2 separate regions of the Homo sapiens genome follow, and region 1 is linked to region 2. The links are contacts of gene promoters, found by promoter capture Hi-C in blood cells and fetal thymus (Javierre and others, 2016). All regions are on one chromosome and are shown on one strand. The core of a region is centred on a gene start or on the middle of the fragment in contact, and the rest is flanking DNA. Distances in the headings are between cores, read along the strand shown.

Region 1 (2,700 bases), core at 87-2,586, 260 kb before region 2:
TATTATTATTATTTTTTTTTTTGGTAGAGAGAGAATTTCACCATTTTGCCCAGGCTGGTCTTGAACTCCTGAGCTCAAGCAATCCACGCGCCTCGGCCTCCCAGAGTGCTGGGATTACAGGCGTGAGCCACCATGCCTGGCCCCATTTTAAAAAAATTACAGGCTGGGCACGGTGGCTCACTCCAGTAATCCCACCACTTTGGGAGGCCGAGGCGGGTGGATCATGAGGTCAGGCATTTGAGACCAGCCTGGGCAACATAGTGAAACCTCGTCTCTACTAAAAATACAAAAAATTATCCGGGCATGGTGGTGGGCGCCTGTAATCCCAGCTTCTTGGGAGGCTGAGGCAGGAGAATTGCTTGAACTTGGGAGGCGGATGTTGCAGTGAGCCAAGATCGCAGCATTGCCCCCCAGCCTGGGTGACAGTGCGAGACTCCATCTCAAAAAAAAAAAAAAAAAAATTACAGTGTTCTTCTGTCACTTTTTTTTTTTAAAGTTTAGAAATTTTCATTATAAAAGACTAAACAAAAATACCCTGCCTTAGAATGCAAGTATGTATGCCTGGAAGTATTAGTCCCTGACACCTGTGTATAAGTTAGGTTTGCAGGTTTCCTCTGTGTCAGCAAATACATGAATCGGGGGAGGGTCACGTGGTAATAAACATGGCTTCCTAAGCAGTTGCCTCAGGGGAGCGGGCATAGTAGACAAGTCTTGATAAATTTGCCTTTACAAGCAGGTAAACTGCCTTTATAGGCCAGGCTGATAGCAGTTTACATTCGGACACACCCAGACACTGGGGGCACTGGTCCTACGGGAGCCATCAATAACTGACCTCCAACTCTATCTACCAGCTGGGGCTCTGCCCCCAGTAGTGCTACGCTCTGAGTAAGAATCCCTGCCAGCCAGGGACCCTGCTTCTGCGGAATCTGACCACAGCTTCTCAGAGCCCAGAGTGGATCCAGCCCCAGGAAGGTGGGATACAGAGGGATCTCAGGTGAGAACGACTCAGGTCCCATTCCAGAGCTGGCCATAGAGCAGCGATTGGAGCCCTGTACCCTTCAGGACCCCAGGGCCCCTTCCTCCTCCCTGGGCATGGCAGCCTCTTGACCTTTGCTCATCTGCAGTTTATGCCACTTTGGGCCCTAGAAGCTGCAGAAAGGGAGGCTGGGGCATGGCTCTGGAGTGCCACTCACTGGCTGGCAGTGAGGAGCCAGGAGACTGGCATTCCCAGCACCAAAGTCCTATTGATCTTTGCCCTTGCCCCTCCCTGGGAGCCTTGGCCCTCCTCCTGCCTTCATTTCTTCTCTGCTGGCCTCTCCTGTTCTCTGTCTCCTCACTTCCCTCTGTGGCTCTGCTCAGAACTGGCGGTTTTTCCCAGCTCCTTGCCCAGACCAATACTTCCATGCTGTCTTCAAGCCCTGCTTCCTGCACATCTCCCAGCCCAGATGGGGAGAACCCATGTAAGAAGGTCCACTGGGCTTCTGGGAGGAGAAGGACATCATCCACAGACTCAGAGTCCAAGTCCCACCCGGACTCCTCCAAGATACCCAGGTCCCGGAGACCCAGCCGCCTGACAGTGAAGTATGACCGGGGCCAGCTCCAGCGCTGGCTGGAGATGGAGCAATGGGTGGATGCTCAAGTTCAGGAGCTCTTCCAGGTAGGTAGCACAGCGGATAGTGGGAGGAGATGGGGGCCTGGGGTCCACCCAGGGCACTGAGACCTTCACAGGAGCTGGAGGGCTGATGTGAGGTGCTTCCGTGAAGAGAAAGCTTTTGTAACTGATGAAAGAAAGAAGCATCGGTTTGAAGTCCAGAAGTCTGCCTCCCTCTAGGCTTGTCTGTGCCTCTAATGCTCTTTGTGATCTGGGGAAGGTCTTTTAACATCCCTAATCTATAATAGGGCTGTTAGTGCCTGTCATATCTCCTTTATAGGACTTTCTGAGGCTCAAATGAGACAATAGAAGGGAAAATGCTTGGTCACACTATGTTTCAAAATTTTATATCTTTATTTACTCCCATGTTCAATGCACATACATGTCCGGAGCTACATTTTCGTTTCTTTTCTTTTTCTTTGTTTCTTTCTTTCTTTCTTTCTTTTGTTTTTTGTTTGTTTGTTTGTTTTTGAGACAAAGTCTTGCCCTGTTGCACAGGCTGGAATGCAGTAGTGCAATCTCAGCTCACTGCTCTGCCTGCTGGGTTCAAGCCATCCTCCCACTTCAGCCTCCTGAGTAGCTGGGACTACAGGTGCGCACCACCACGCCTGGCAAATTTTTTTGTATTTTTTTTTGTAGAGACGGCTTTTCACCATGTTGCCCAGGCTGGTCTTGAACTCCTTGGCTCAAACAGTCTGCCTGCCTCGGCCTCTCAAAGTGCTGGGATTACAGGTGTGCACCACCATGCCCAGCCTAGAGCTACATTTTCCAATTCTGTAGCCATCAGCCATGTGTAGCTGTTTGACTTTAAATGAGTTATAATTAAATAAAATTATTCAGTTCCCCAGTCACATGGGCCACATTTCTTTTTTCTTTTGCCTTTTTTTGAGACAGTCTTACTCTGTAAACCAGCCTGGAGTGCAATGCCGTGATTTTGGCTCACTGCAACCTCCGCCTCCCAAGTTCAAGCGATTCTCCTGCCTCAGCCTCCCGAGTAGCTGGGATTACAGGCATGCGCCACTGTGCCCGACTAATTTTGTATTTTTAGT
Region 2 (2,700 bases), core at 5-2,504:
CACTGGGCTAAACAATTCTAGTCTCTATCCCTGACATCTCATAACTCTATGTTAAATAGTTTAAGTAGTAGTTATAGGAACATAGGCTTTGGTAGTGGCACTGTTGATAGCCTTACCCCTGTGAGTTTCCTTAGTTTCCTCAGAGGTAAAATGGAGTGGCAATACCTACTTCACAAGGCTGTCATTAGAATTAGTGGACATACAATGTTTAACTTTGTGCCCAGCACACAGTAAAGAGACATAAATGATAGCCCCTATTATTACTATTTGCACAGAGATCTACAACGCAGGGTAAAGTGATCAGTGCCCTTGCCACAAGACGGTGTTTAAAGGAATTATGAAAATTCCAACTTCTGTCCCTTGGAAACAAGGAAGCTGCCTTGAGGAAGAGGATAAACAGGCTGAGTCCTGAAGCACAGACACCCTGGCCACTTGCGGAGGTGGGAAACGGGCTAAAATAGTGTTCCAAATGAAAGCGAGAACGCTTTAGAATTGCCATGATTTTAATCCAGTACCTATGCTTTACTAAGACTAAAAAACAAAACAAAACAAAACAAAACCCGGCCCCTTTTCCTCGCCCGCTTCTGGCCAGCCCCATCAGGACTCCACCTTGAGCACGATGTTGAGGTCCTGCACCGGCTTCTCGTTGAGTTGCAGGCGGCCCGCCCGGACCGCGGCCTCATAGTAGGCCAGGGGCTGAGCTCGGAACTCGGTACTGAAGACGTGCAGCAAGCTGTGGCCCACCCAGCGACCTTTGCAGTAGGTCCGGAAGTCAAAGTAATAGGGCCGCACCTTACGCAGGCCGCCCTCGAAGTAATAACTGGTTTCTGCAAAGTGCTCATCTCCGAAGCTCACCCCGGTCCGCCGCTTCTTCGGGGGCGGCACGACACGCTCCCTGGTTGCGCCCCGCCGCTTCTTATGCTTGCCCGGGCCTGGGGCTGCAGCCGAGGGATGCTCCCCGCCTACTGGGGCCGGCTCCACTTCCCGGCCAGCCGGCTTCGGGGGCCCGGGGGACAGCTCAACCTTCGCGTCGCCACCAGCGTCACCGTTTTGCTGATGCGAAGCCCTCAGCCCGCCCTCTGTCCCAACCTGGGTAGACACTGTTTCTGCCATTGGGCCCTTATCGCCACTCCAAGTCCTGGTAAAGCTAGGGCGCCTAAGGTCGTAGCGCCAATGTCCAAGAACCCTGAGCCATCCGCGGCGGTCCAGCCACATAACCACGCTGCCCCCACTCCACTCCCAGGGTCGCGATCTGAGGACGTCACTCGGCCCCAGCGAATCAGGGAGGCCCAGTCCCGAGGCGGGGTCTGCGATAAGTGAGCGAATGAGTGAGCTGCTCGAATTAAATTAGGTGAATTGAGTGAGCTTAGAGATGAGAGACTGTAAATGTCTCACCAAAAGTGACCTTACTCAGACGTCTTCCTATTAGGGAGATACGACGTTATTTATAAAGGAAACCCTTGGAATTGCTCCGTGTAAAGGCCATGACAGGAGTAGGTCGTGTAAATTCCGAGTAGTCCCTTGGGTCTGAAGAAACGCTTGAAAGGAGCTTTATTTAAGACAAAACAAAAACTAACAACCAGAATAAAGATTGCTAAACTCTGCGAATATACTAAAACCCACTGTATTCTATATTTTAAAAGGGTCAATATTATAGTATGTGACTTGTATCTCAGTAAGATTGTTATATATGTATTTAAAACACACACAAGCACCCCAGAAGCAATGTGTTCACACCTGTGTTTCCCCCTAACAGCATGAGAAGGATTAGTGATCCCCATTCGCCTCCCACATGCTTCCATCCTGAGATTAAAACTGCAAATAGATCAGAGGATATATGGCGAGGGTTCTTAAGTGCAAAATAAACCAACTCTGGCTAATTTCATCAGAGATAGAATTATGGAAAGTATATTAGTGCCTCATAGAATTCACAAGACAACTGGAGACTAGGCTCAGAAAAAGGGCCAAATCAAGGGAAACCAAGCCTTTTGAGAGCCTGGCTTCAGACATGTCAGGGAAGAAACCCAGTTGGGATGCAGTAGACACAAGAAACTATGTTGTGCCAAAGGACTCTTTTTCCTGCAGCCCTGCCACCCCTTGGAGACCCCTAAATCTCCCTGTGTCTCTGTGTCCCTCTTCCAAGGTTAAGAGTCCTGCAGGGGAGGACTTCCATCAGCCAAACCTCATTGCTCTGAGCCCTCACTTCCAGGGTGCCTGGAGATGGAAGAATTTAACCCTCTTTTTTTTTTTTTTTTTTTTTTTTTTTGAGACGGAGTCTTGCTCTGTCGCCCAGGCTGGAGTGCAGTGGAGCGATTTCACCTCACTGCAACCTCCGCCTCCTGAGTTCAAGCCATTCTTCTGCCTCAGCCTCCTGAGTGGCTGGGACTACAGGCACGCACCACCACGCCTGGCTAATTTTTATATTATGAGTGCTGGGATTACAGGCGTAAGCCACCGCGCCCGGCCAAGAATCTAACCCTCTTTGGTATCCAGAGTGGGATTCTTCCAAATAAGGAGGCATTTCAATGTTAGTTTGCCAAAAAAAAAAAAAAAAAAAAGACAGTCTAATTCTTATCCTAGGCATTTGTATTCTGGAGAGGAGAAAGGGAAATCTTTTTTAGCTAAATTCCTTCTTCAAGTCATTAGTCTCACCAAACTAACTGAGGGACTGCAGCTGAGGTATCCACAGCTGCAGAACTC

The links. The method cuts DNA at HindIII sites, captures the fragments that hold promoters and counts their contacts. A CHiCAGO score of 5 or more calls a contact.
Region 1: the fragment with the promoter of PPP1R14D here is called in contact with the fragment with the promoter of RPUSD2 in region 2 in 4 of 17 cell types (M2 macrophages, endothelial precursors, M1 macrophages and 1 more); the score reaches 5.8 in M2 macrophages.

What each region holds. Positions count from the first base shown.
Region 1 is chr15:40,827,344-40,830,043 of GRCh38, reverse strand. It overlaps PPP1R14D (protein phosphatase 1 regulatory inhibitor subunit 14D), which reads left to right and starts at 1,336. Exons shown (of 4, transcript NM_017726.8): 1 at 1,336-1,657. The coding sequence starts at 1,403. The HindIII fragment of the contact is 4,675 bases long and covers 1-1,771 here.
Region 2 is chr15:40,567,853-40,570,552 of GRCh38, reverse strand. It overlaps RPUSD2 (RNA pseudouridine synthase domain containing 2), which reads right to left and starts at 1,254. Exons shown (of 3, transcript NM_152260.3): 1 at 610-1,254. The coding sequence starts at 1,215. RefSeq lists enhancers at 623-672, 422-921, 983-1,312. The HindIII fragment of the contact is 4,663 bases long and covers 1-2,700 here.